Regions from separate parts of the Homo sapiens genome. Here region 1 is linked to region 2. The links are contacts of gene promoters, found by promoter capture Hi-C in human tissues and cell types (Jung and others, 2019). All regions are on one chromosome and are shown on one strand. The core of a region is centred on a gene start or on the middle of the fragment in contact, and the rest is flanking DNA. Distances in the headings are between cores, read along the strand shown.

The links. The method cuts DNA at HindIII sites, captures the fragments that hold promoters and counts their contacts. A contact is called where the count stands out against the background at its distance.
Region 1: a fragment that was not itself captured here is called in contact with the fragment with the promoter of DSCR4 in region 2 in 2 of the 25 tissues and cell types used here (aorta and heart left ventricle).

The regions. Positions count from the first base shown.
Region 1 is chr21:38,007,902-38,013,859 of GRCh38, reverse strand. No RefSeq gene overlaps it. Among named protein-coding and RNA genes, the nearest start is that of KCNJ6, 94 kb to the right of the region's middle. The HindIII fragment of the contact is 5,050 bases long and covers 175-5,224 here.
Region 2 is chr21:38,119,516-38,125,714 of GRCh38, reverse strand. It overlaps DSCR4 (Down syndrome critical region 4), which reads left to right and starts at 4,355. Exons shown (of 3, transcript NR_147130.1): 1 at 4,355-4,587; 2 at 5,307-5,408. It overlaps DSCR8 (Down syndrome critical region 8), which reads right to left and starts at 4,264. Exons shown (of 3, transcript NR_026842.1): 1 at 4,114-4,264; 2 at 3,304-3,403. The HindIII fragment of the contact is 7,375 bases long and covers 2,772-6,199 here.

The DNA of each region.
Region 1 (5,958 bases), core at 1,450-3,949, 110 kb after region 2:
ATACTTCCGTTCTTTGCCTCCATTCCCTTGGATAATAATAGGTTCATTACAAGACCTATGTTCTGTGGGTATTAAGTGAGATCATCCTACAGAGTCCTCTGCACACAGCTGGGGCATGGTTAGCACTTACTCACTGTCACTTATGTTTACTATTGCTGCTGGTAATATTTTGGGTGTCACTGATACCTGTTTCCAGAGTATTTGTTGATAATATTGAAGACAAGCGCTATTGCACACCAAAAGAAAACTCCCCCATACAGACACCAACTCATTTATTAATCATTTAACATAAAAATTGGTTTCTTAATTTATTTTGAATATGATCTCTTCAAATTTTTCATATTTTCATATTTATCTAACCTATAAGCCTAGTAATACATTCTTTTTCAACCTTTTAAAAAATTTTAAGTTATTTTGCTTTTATCGTAAACTTATAACCTATTAATAAAGCCCTTAAAATGTTCTACAAATTCATTTCTTATTAAGACAATCAAAACGGAGTTTCAGTCAGTTATAGATGATTTGGTCCAAAATGTCTTTGTCTAAACACAAATGTGTGAATGAATGAAGAGAGAGAGAACTCATTATTCTTCCTAGCCTGTTATTAATCTGGATATGCATTTCAGTGTATGCATCCTGGTTGGAATGGTGACTTACAAATCCATGTTCACAAACTGAAGAGCAAAAGAGAAATTTCAGAAATCATGGTGGATTTAATGACCTTAAACTGACATGCAAACTGTCTGACAAGGAATGTGATTTAGGAATTTCTTCCATCCAAATCTTAAGGAATTGATAGAAAATGAGGTGTAGCTGTTAATGGTGCTGTTATGCAGGAAACAACTCCCAACCGCATGAATACAGAAAAAGAATGAAACTCAAATGCAAAACCAGCATCAGGCACTGAGGACGGCAGCGTCACAGCAAACATTCACAGTGCAGCTTGCATAATGAAGCAGGGACAGCTTATTCTGCAGCAAAGATGCTGACTATACTAATTCTAGAAAGCCTGACAAAGCTCTGACCAGCTTCCATGAGGCATAGCATTTACCAGAAACAGCAGGGGAATTGTGACTCTCAAGTTGAACGAGACATGTTATCCCTTTATTTTGCCAGAAGTTCTGATTTCTCTCTTTGTTCAGTCCTGCACAGCTGATGTGAATAACAGTGTCTAGACTGAAGGACACACGAACAATTGTGTTAAATTACTTTTGAAGTCTGTTTGAGAATACATACCTAACTGTTGATGTCTGTTTGCATATATGTTGCCATCATTTTTTGCAGTTGCTCCTCCCAAGCCTAGGAATCCTAACAGCTCCCCACTCTTGCTAGCTCCAAAGTACTGCACTACCCCAAGAGTCTCCTTCCACTTGCCCGTAGCTCTGTGAATAAATGTCTTAACGTGTCCTCGGTTGCTTCACTTGAGTGTGTCATGTTTTCTACCAGGACTCTGATACAGCCTTCCTTCTTCATCGTTTTAAAAAATGTAGAATAAAGAAAGAACCATAACTGTAAGACATTTAAGGACTCTGTTTTGTTGGGCACCTCAATATGTGGATTACACAGTAACCCCAGGAGGAGGGCCTATTGTATTGTTGCTTAGTTATTCTGCTTAAACTACCACAGATAAAAGCACATATTTGATAATCATGGCTAGTATTCTTTCGCAGCGAAAATGAGTTCCAGAAATTTGAAACAAGTGATTTAAATTAGGTAATTATATTGTATTCAAGAATGAGAGATATAAGACCTTTAAAAACTACTAATCTGTCCAGACCATCCTGGCTAACACGGTGAAACCCCGTCTCTACTAAAAATACAAAAAATTAGCCGGGTGTGGTGGCGGGCGCCTGTAAATCCAGCCACTCGGCAGGCTGAGGCGGGAGAAGGGCATGAACCCGGGAGGCGGAGCTTGCAGTGAGCCGAGATGGCGCCACTGGACTCCAGCCTGGGTGACAGAGCGAGACTCCATCTCAAAAAAAGAAAAAAAAAAACTACTAATCTGCACTTTGGGAGGCCGAGGCAAGCAGATCACCTGAGGTCAGGAGTTTGAGACGAGCCTAGCCAACATGGTGAAACCCTGTCTCTACTAAAAATACAAAAATTAGCTGGGCATGATGGCAGGCGCCTGTAATCCCAGCTACTCAGGAGGCTGAGGCAGGAGAATCGCTTGAACCCGGGAGGCAGAGGTTGCAGTGAGCCGAGATCATGCCACTGCACTCCAGCCTGGGCGACAGAGCAAGACTTCATCTAAAAAAAAAAAAAAAATTACTAATCTGAAAGATGGGTGAGGAGGGAGATAATTGCAGTGATCCAAAGGTAAACCTATATCTGAAGCCCATTTAGTTTAGTTTCAACAAGCTTGGTTTCTCAGATTCAACGAGTGCCCTGTGGTGACATAAGACGGTCACATTAAGGGAACAGAACCTGGGTGAGGGAGATCCAAGGGGAGCTCTCAACACTCTCTTTGCAACTTTTCCGTAAATCTAGAACTCTTCCAAATTTTAAGTTTATTTATTAAAAAAACTCAGCCTAAGGAAATACAAAACTTTCCATATTAACAATTTTCATTATAAGTCATTTGACCTGTACTCACACATTGATAACTAAGAAAACAGAGTATTCTGAAAAAAAACTTAATTTTCAAAAGGGGAAATCGTATAAGCAAGCTTCTGAGAAGCAGTCATCAAGGTTTTTTTCCCTGCTTTATTTCTTGGTTATTTTTTAGGTTTTATAAAACAAACTTGTATTAATATAATTTAAAATGATATTTTATGATATCATCAGGTATGATATAATATTTCATATACAGAGTGCCAAGATATATTGAATATATGTTTCAATATAAAATATTTTATATTTTAATATGATGTGATATTTTATAACAATTCATTTCAGTTTTAGTTTTTAAAAGTAAAAAAGCTCCTTGTGGGGAAAAGAGTGTCCACTGCTGAGTATACTTCCAGCCCCACCTACCCTTTCATCCTATAATGGAAGAACGCCTATTGTCCAAAAGTTCCTTCTTCTTTTTTTTTTAATTTTATTATTATTATACTTTAAGTTTTAGGGTATGTGTGCACAACGTGCAGGTTTGTTACATATGTATACATGTGCCATGTTGGTGTGCTGCACCCATTAACTCGTCATTTAGCATTAGGTATATCTCCTAATGCTATCCCTCCCCTCTCCCCCCACCCCACAACAGTCCCCGGTGTGTGATGTTCCCCTTCCTGTGTCCAAAAGTTCCTTCTTAGGTATGGGGATCTCAGCAGTTTCATTTCAGTGGCCACAGCTTGGGAAACAGACTTCTCCCAATATCAAAGGGAATCAAGTCCCCCTTTTTTTCTCCAGGCCTCGGTCTGCAGCATCTGTGATGCATCAGGTGGGTTTTGTCTGGGGTTTCTCTCTCCCTTTTCCAGCCACTGATTGTGCTGCTGGAAATGAAAAGCAGCCCCTCATTCTAGAAAAACTGGTGCTCCATCAACAAGAGGTGCAAGGACATTTGTAATAAGGAAGAAACACACTGCTTAGCTACAACAAAAGTGGGCAGAAAGTGATGAATAGGTAGAAAAGCAGGCTTTCAGTTCACAGCTAACATTTTTGGAGTGTTGATAAACGGCAGGAGCTAACTACTCCAAGTGCTGTACAAATGGTACCTCCCAGCAACCCCATAAAGTGAGTATTGCTGTCAACATCATCCTCATTTTACAAATGAAGAAACTGAGGCACGGAGAGATTAAATGGCAGTAAAACAAGAAGCTGGAATTTGAACAGAGACATCCTCATTCTAAGACATGAGCTCCTAACATCTGGGCTATAATGATCATTGCCAGTACCTGAGCATGGAATATCTATCACAAGAGGAAAAAAAAATCTAAATGAATGTCTATTATTCATTAAAAAATCACAAGGCCATCTTGTTTGCTTTTTCTGAAAGAAGAGCACGTAGTTTCATATGTAGCTTGAGTATACTTAATGGTTTTAATGGACCTATTTGACAGTCTCATAATTTATTGAATTCACACATGTGAAAACAAAAATCCCCTCAGGCCATTTTGGATCACAGCTTTCTCACCATCATTAACAGTGGTTTCTTATCCTCCTGATTCCCCCTTCACACGGATTTAATAACAGCGTTTGACTCTCATTATTATGTCTCATTTTCTAGGCAATCTGTCATGTCTATTGTTTATCATCTCATCATCAGAGAAAGCCAGTAGGTCTTCCTCGTATTAAATCTTGTGCAAGCGGGCAATTGGTTTATGATCTATAACAAAATTGCTCAGCTCATTCTTGTGATCAGTCAAGTGATGAACAAGTATTCTCTGTGTTTTAAAAGGGAATTGTTTTCTGCTTTTCTCAACCTTATCTCCCTTGGCATCTCCACATGAAATTGATTTCAGCCAAAGTGGTCTACTTCCCGACTCCTGAAATGCAGTTTTCCTGTGGCTCCCTCCCTCATCTCTGTGTGCCATTATCGTCCTCCATTCAGCCCTCCGCTCTGGGGCTATTCCAGCCAAGAGTCATATATTCGAATTCCTATGGCAACCACTAGTTTATGTTCCTGCAATATCTCTTCTGGTGTTGTCTGAAACACTTATCACAATGTCATACTCGTTTAACTTTTTTGTGTTACTGTGCTGAAATCTACAGAGTGTAACTTTCTTGAGGCAAGGACTGGAGTCTGTCTCCTTTTACCTCCTGGAGCATACTGCCTTCTCCATAGAGGAGGGCCATAAATTTGTTCATTTATGGATTCACTCCAGATCTCTGGCTCCTCTCTGCCTCAATGCAGGCTTCCCAATGGAACAATAAGGCAGCCATCTCCTTCACACCCCACATCCAGCCCACCGGCAAAGCCTTCCGGCTCCACTGTTAAAACAGCCAGAATCTGACCACTTCTCTCACTTCCACCGCCACCATCCTGCATTAATGCAGCAGCCTCTTCAGTAAGATCCTGCCCCCCCTGCTTGTAAGTCCTGTACAAGATTCTTTATAGAGCAGCCAGAGTGGTCTTTTTAAACAGCTTTATGAAAATATAATTAATTCACATATCCTATAACTCACCCATTTAAAATGTACAAGTCAGTTTTTTTTAGTGCATTTACAAAGTTATGCAACCACCACCACAGTTAGAATACCTTCAATACTCCAAAAAGAAACCCATTCCCCTTAGTCCTCACCCCTTCATTCCCTACTTCCTCAAGGCCCTGGCCTTCACTAATCTGCTGTCTGTCTCATTGAAATGTCTGGACATTTCACATAAACAGTATCACACAGCACATGGCCTGCTGGGTCTGGCTTCTTTCACTTAGCATAATGTCCTCAAGATTCATTCATACATGTCATAGTATTTATCAGTTCTTGACTACTTTTTATTGCCAATTAATATTCCCTTGTATGGATATACCACATTTTATGTATCCATTCATCAGCTAATGGTTATTTTTGGTTGTGCCTTTTTGGCTATATGAAAATCCTGCTATGAACATTTGTGAACAAGTTTCTGTGTGGGAATGTTTCATTTTTCTTGGACATAGACATAGATGTGGGGTTGCTGGATCATATGGTAATTTTATGTTTAACCTTTTGAAAAACTTCTAGACTTTTTTCAGAATCAGTTGCACCACTTTACATTCTCTCCAGCAATGCACAAGAGCCCCAATTTCCCCACATCCTTGTCAACATTTGGTACTGCCTGTCTTTGTGATTCTAGCCATCCTGATGGGTGTGAAGTGGTATCGCATTGTGGGTTTGATTCGTATTTCCCTAACAATGAATAATGTTGAGCATCTTTTTATGCTCAATGCCACTAGCCATTAGTGAAATGTAATGTATATTGGCCACTCGTAAATCTTCTTTGGCGAATTGTCTATTCACATCCTTTGCCCGTTTTAATTGGGCTATTTATCTTTTTATTACTGACTTGTAAGAATCCTTTATATATTCTATCTGTAA
Region 2 (6,199 bases), core at 3,106-5,605:
CATTTAGCAGTGTTATTGAATTTGATATTTTACAAATGCCTTTAACCCTAGAAGAATGAATGATATGGATGCTTTGCAGCCTCTAACTTGATGAAGACCACCATAATGGATGTGTAACCATGTATAAGAATGTTCCATGTCAAAAGATAAATCAGAACAAAACAAAAAACAGAAAATAACAAGTGCTATCAAGGATGTGGAAAAACTTCTGCGCACTGCTATTGGGAATATAAAATGGTGCAGCCACCACAGAAAAGAATATGGTGGTTCCACAGAATTAAACATAGAATTGCTGTATAATCCAGGATCCCATTTTTTGCATATATAGCTCAAAGAACTGCAAGCAAAGATTGAATAAATACTTGTACACCTATATTCACAGCAGTATTATTCACAACAGCCAAAAGGTAGAAGCAACCCAAGTTTGCATCAACAGATGAACAGAAAAACAATATGTGGTCTGTTCATACAATGGAATATTATTCAGCCTTAGAAATTTCGGAAAGGAATTCCAAGACATGCTATTAATACAACATGGATGAACCTTGAAGACATTATGGTAAGTGGAATAAGCCAGTCACAAAAGGACAAATACCGCATGATTCTACCTATGTGAAGTACCTAGAGTAGTCAAATTCCTAGAGGCAAAGCAGAATGGTGGGTGCCAGGGGCTTACAGGAAAAGAGAACGGGGCATTATTGTGTAATGGGTACACAGTTCCAATTTTGGAGGATAAAAAAAGGTTCTGGAGGTGGATGGTAGGGATAGCTGCACAACAATGCAAATGTACTTAATGCCATTAGGCTGTACACTTAAAAAATGGTTAAAATGATACACTTTATGTTATGTATATTTTAACATAAGTATGTTATGTAATTTTTTAAAAACCAATTTTTTTTTGAAAATTACATATGTTTAAAACATATGTTTTAAAAATTACATATGTTATGTAATTTTTTAAAAACCAATTTTTTTTCCTTTTTTTTTTGAGACGGAGTCTCGCTCTGTCTCCCAGGCTGGAGTGTAGTGGTGCGATCTTGGCTCACTGCAAGCTCCGCCTCCTGAGTTCACGCCATTCTCCTGCCTCAGCCTCCTGAGTAGCTGAAACCAATTTTTGTAAGTTCCAGGTACACAAGAAGACTTATATTCTCATGTGTATTAACAATGGAAGTAAAATAATCAGTAGTTTGGTATCTGTTCCCCTCCTCCTGTGCAGTAAAATGGAAGATAAAAGCAACATTAATGTTCATACTTGGAATTATTAAGTAAATCCAAATTTTTAAGATTAAAAACAAGGGTAGACAAAAGTAGCAAATCTTGGCGAGCTCTGAGACAGAAATCTCTAAATCTTATATTAAGTGAAAAACTTCAATTTAAACAAAAGCAAAAGGAAACCCGAGTTGATGCAGAGACATTAACAGCTCATGTTCAGTTTCCAAAAACTGCCAAGTTGGAACTCATTGCTCTAATCAGCACCTACTAGGAACAAGAGACAACCTGCGGTTACACTGGTTTTCAAAAAGCACATACATATGTTTATTAGCTTGACGGGGGGAACACATATGTGAATACTTGTATTTAATATTTCCTAACCTTCTGTATAATGTCCACTTTAAGGAATTGAGACTAGCTCTGATTTTGCCCCCTTTGACTTTTAGGGTCAATAAGCTTTATTAAGGGCAATTTAGTGTCACAGGAAGAGAAAATTTATAACCCTGATCAATGAGGAATACAGAGGACACAAAGGTACATACATGTGATGGAGACCTATATCAAAAATGCTGTTATCAGTCAGAGTGCTGGCAGGAAACAGATGGTACACTCAAACCAGGCAACTGAGCTAAGGTTAATGAAGGCCTATTTACACAGGTGTGGGTGGGGCTATGGGAACCAACAAGTGATACTGAGACACCCATGGGCAGCACTCCCTGGAGAGCCATTACCTCCCCTAGGGCTAATGGGACTGTAAGGAGAGAGGTCACCGGACCCCACAGAGAGCTAGAGGAGACGACTGAGGGGTAGTGAGCTTCACACAGGAATGTAGCCCCTGCCGACTTGTGGCCTTGAGAGCTCGAGCATCCGTACCTCAACCATTCTGTCCTCCTGCCCCAACTTCCTCTGTGCCTCCATGGGCCAATGGGAAGCCAGAGGGTAACAGAGCCCATGTGGGGCTGTTCGTAGAGGTCAGTGTTCTGGGGTTCAGAACATGGTGGGGAGGAGGGCAGGGAGTCTGAAGGGTCAGACACAGAATGTCAAAAACATCCTTATATGTGGTTTCATCTAGTGCTCTTAAACCAGACTCACTAACCTACTGTGTTTTAAAATACAGCTTGCCAAAGTCTGTGTTAATATTATTTAACTTTGATGTGTATCTGTGATGGTTAGTTTTGTGTGTCAACTTGACTGAGCCATGGGATACTCCTAACAGGTTGAATGTTATTTCTGGGTGTATCTGTGAAGGTGTTTCTGGAAGAGATCAGGATCTGAGTTGGTGGACTGATTAAAGCAGATGGCTCTCCTCAATGTGGCTGGGCCTCATCCAGTCCATCCAGGGTCAGAATAGAAGAAAAACGGAGAGGAAGGGAGGACTTTTTCTCTTTGCCTGATTGAGCTGGAATATTGATCTTCTGCCCTCTGTGCTTCTGGTTCTCAGGCCTTTAGACCTGGGCTGCAATCTATACCATCGGCCCTCCAGCTCTTAGGCCTTTGACTTTCATCAGCTTTCCTGGGTCTCCAGCTTGCAGAGAGCAGATCATGGGGCTTCTCAGCCTCCACAATCACATGAACCAGTACCTGATAATAAATTGGTTCTGGTTTTTCCAGAGAACCCTGATTAATATACTATCTGTGCATTCACTTAGGAGAAACAAAGTCATTAAATGTGAAAAAAAAAAAAGAACTGAGTCACTCAGAAGAATCATACTATAGTTGCCCATCATATATTATAAAGAACAAAGTATTCTAAATTATTTACGAATAAGAATTCTATAAAGAAAATGACTGATTATCTGCGCTTACACAAAATATTTCATGGAAATTTTATTACCGTGCTCTTTTTTTTTTTTAATTTAACCATCATTATGTTGTGCATTCATCATCTGGAGTTTTTAGTTGTTTAGAATTCCCTGTTGGCAGCCAAATTCCTGTCTGGGAAAATGTATGAGCCAGCCTTCATTTTCCACGATGACTTTCCAAGGAACCATTACAATTAAGAGAATGTAAGTTACTCATCTCCAATAACTGTACATGAAGCAATATTCCGAGGATTTGTTAACTGTCTTTGACAGGAGATCATCTACTCACAGTAGGTGCTTAACAAATGCCATCTTGAATGAATGAAGACCCTTTCTCACAGTAACAAAGTTGGGTCCAGGCTCCTTCATTTTTGCTCAGCAAGATGAAGCTAAGGAAACAGGAAATAAGTCATCAACCAAATCATAGTAACAAATCGTTCTATTCCATTCTCCATAATTCACCCTTCAGTCCAGGGGAACACTAACAATTGCCCCTCCAGATACAAAGAAATTGCCTCCTCTGAAGACAGCTGCCTCACCTAAGGCCACATTTCCTTCCAGGTTGCCCCACTTCCAATGAGTCACTGATTGGCAATCCATAAAGGTCAGCTCTCTTGCCTCAACTCAGCATACCTCTGACAGATCGTCCCATCTTCCCGTCTCCCTTGAGGTTTGACTGGGGTTGCTGCTGACCCAGTGATATAGGAGTTAAGAAGAAAGTACTTAGGCAGATAGTGAAGGTATGGGAGTCCTCAGTAAGGTCTTCCTTTTAATGAAAAGCAGCCCCCAAATCATTTTCTTTTCTAACAAAAAGCAACCTGGAAAATCGAGCTGCAGACACAGACAAGCAAGCTGAAAGCTTGCACAGGCAAATACCGGCAGTTGTGCCAATAAAAATATACTACCTGGGGCCGGCGCTGTGGCTCACGCCTGTAATCCCAGCTACTCAGGAGGCTGAGGCAGGAGAATCGCCTGAACTTAGGAGGCGGAGGCTGTGGTGAGCCAAGATGGCGCCATTGCACTCCAGCCTGGGCAACAAGAGCGAAACTCCGACTCAAAAAGCGACAACAGCAGCAACAACAACAACAAAAAACACTACCTGGGATTAGGCATGTTCTAAATGGCAGCTCCATCTTCTCTTTTTGCCACCCATGTTTACAGAAACGAGTGGACAAGACGGCCCCTGCCAAGTGGGAAGCCTATTTGCATAACAAGATTAGGGTGGGGTGACCAGCCTTCCCTGCGCGCTACGTAAACGTCACCCCTGGTCGAACCAATCTCTGGGCTCCACGTAAATCAGACACCGCCTCCTCAAGCCTGCCCGTAAAACCTGCTGCCGTCAGTCACGGGCCAGCCTTTCCCTTAAGGATGTCTGAGAGCTGGTCTCCTCACTCTTTTCTTCCGCCTATTAAACTTTCCGCTTCTTAACTCACCCATGTGTGTCCATGTCGTTAATCATCTTGACGAGAGATGATGAACCCCGGATATTTACCCCAGACAGTGATGCCGCTTCACCAGCATTGCACTCTACTTCCCCGCTTCCTGATCCTGCCTCAGCTTCTCCTCTCCACAGGTATTGATCCCAAGAACAACCCGTAAGAAATGTCCTGCACGCTAATCTCCATCTCAGAGTCAGCTTCCCAGGGAATCCAGCAATTACGAAGCATTCAGCTTAATTTTGTTGATTGCTTTATGATTTTGTGTGTGTGTGTGTGTTTTAATGTTGAAATGTAACATATATTCAAAAGTGTGGATAAAGTCTCCATGACGATTAGTTTCCTGTGTCATCATGGGGGCCAGGCTTTAGTGCCTTTTTTTTTTTTTTTTTTTTTTTTTTTTTGTGGTGAGACAGAGTTTTGCTCTTGTCACCCAGACTGGAATGCAGTGGCGCGATCTCGGTTCACTACAACCTCCTGGGTTCAAGTGATTCTCCTGCTTCAGCCTCCCAAGTAGCTGGGATTACAGGTGCCCGCCACCAAGCCAGGCTAATTTTTGTATTTTTAGTACGGATGGGGTTTCACCATGTTGGCCAGGCTGGTCTTGAACTCCTGACCTCAAGTGATCTTCCTGCCTCGGCCTCCCAAAGTGCTGGGATTACAGGCGTGAGCCACTGCACCCGGCCTTTACTGCCCATTTATTTAATCAAACACTAATCTAGGTAGTGCTGCAAAGGTATTTTGTAGATGTAGTTAACATCTACAATCAGTTGGCTTTACATAAATCTTACTTTTCATACTGTGAATGGGCCTTATACAATCAGAAGCCTTAAGAGCAAAAACTGAATTTTCCTAGAGAAGAAAAAATTCTGCCTAAAGTCTGCAACATCGTTTCCTGCCTGAGTTTCAGCCTGCCAGCTTCTCCTACGGATTCTGGACTTGCCAGCCCCACAATCATGTAAGCCAATATGCTAAAATAAATTTCTTAATATAATTCTTAATGTATATATCCTTTTGATTCTGTTTTTCTGGAGAAATCTGGCTTATACAGGCTCTTAACATGATTGTTTATCTGTCAATTTTTATTTTATGGCTATGTTATTAGGTATAAACAAATTTACGATTATTTCATATTAAACCTGAAACGTTGATTATTCTGAAACGAGCCAGTCTTTGCTTTGGTTTTGTAACTTTTGCTTTGCATAGTAGTTTTACCATCCCTTACTTACTTTCAACCTGTCGATATCTTTATATTTAAAGTAAGCAGCTTGTTTAGCTTTGCTTGATATTATTACCTTCTCTGATGAGCTTTATATTTCAATTTCAATATTTAGTCTGTTTATATTTACTGTAATTCAAGGTTAAATCTACCATCTTACCATTGATTCCTATTTTCTCTGTTCTATGATTTTTTTTGTCCTTCCTTAAAGTTTTTGGGCTTATTTAAATTTTTCTAATTACATTTCTTCTTCTATTAGCTTGTTATTTATATGTTTTTTTAAAAAATTGGTGTTTTCTCTAATTGGTGCAACATGCATTCTTGACTTACTAAAGTGCTATCGGTGTGTGTTTTAAAGGCGCTACTGTAAATGTGTATACAAGTAATTTTTATCTAGATTTACCACATAGACATTCTTATGACTGCTCTTTGTTACTTCCTGAATTTCCATGCTTTGCTCTACTACATGTTATTTACCATAATAAATGCATAACATTTATTACCTATAGCTCTAAAGGCAAACAGGCAGT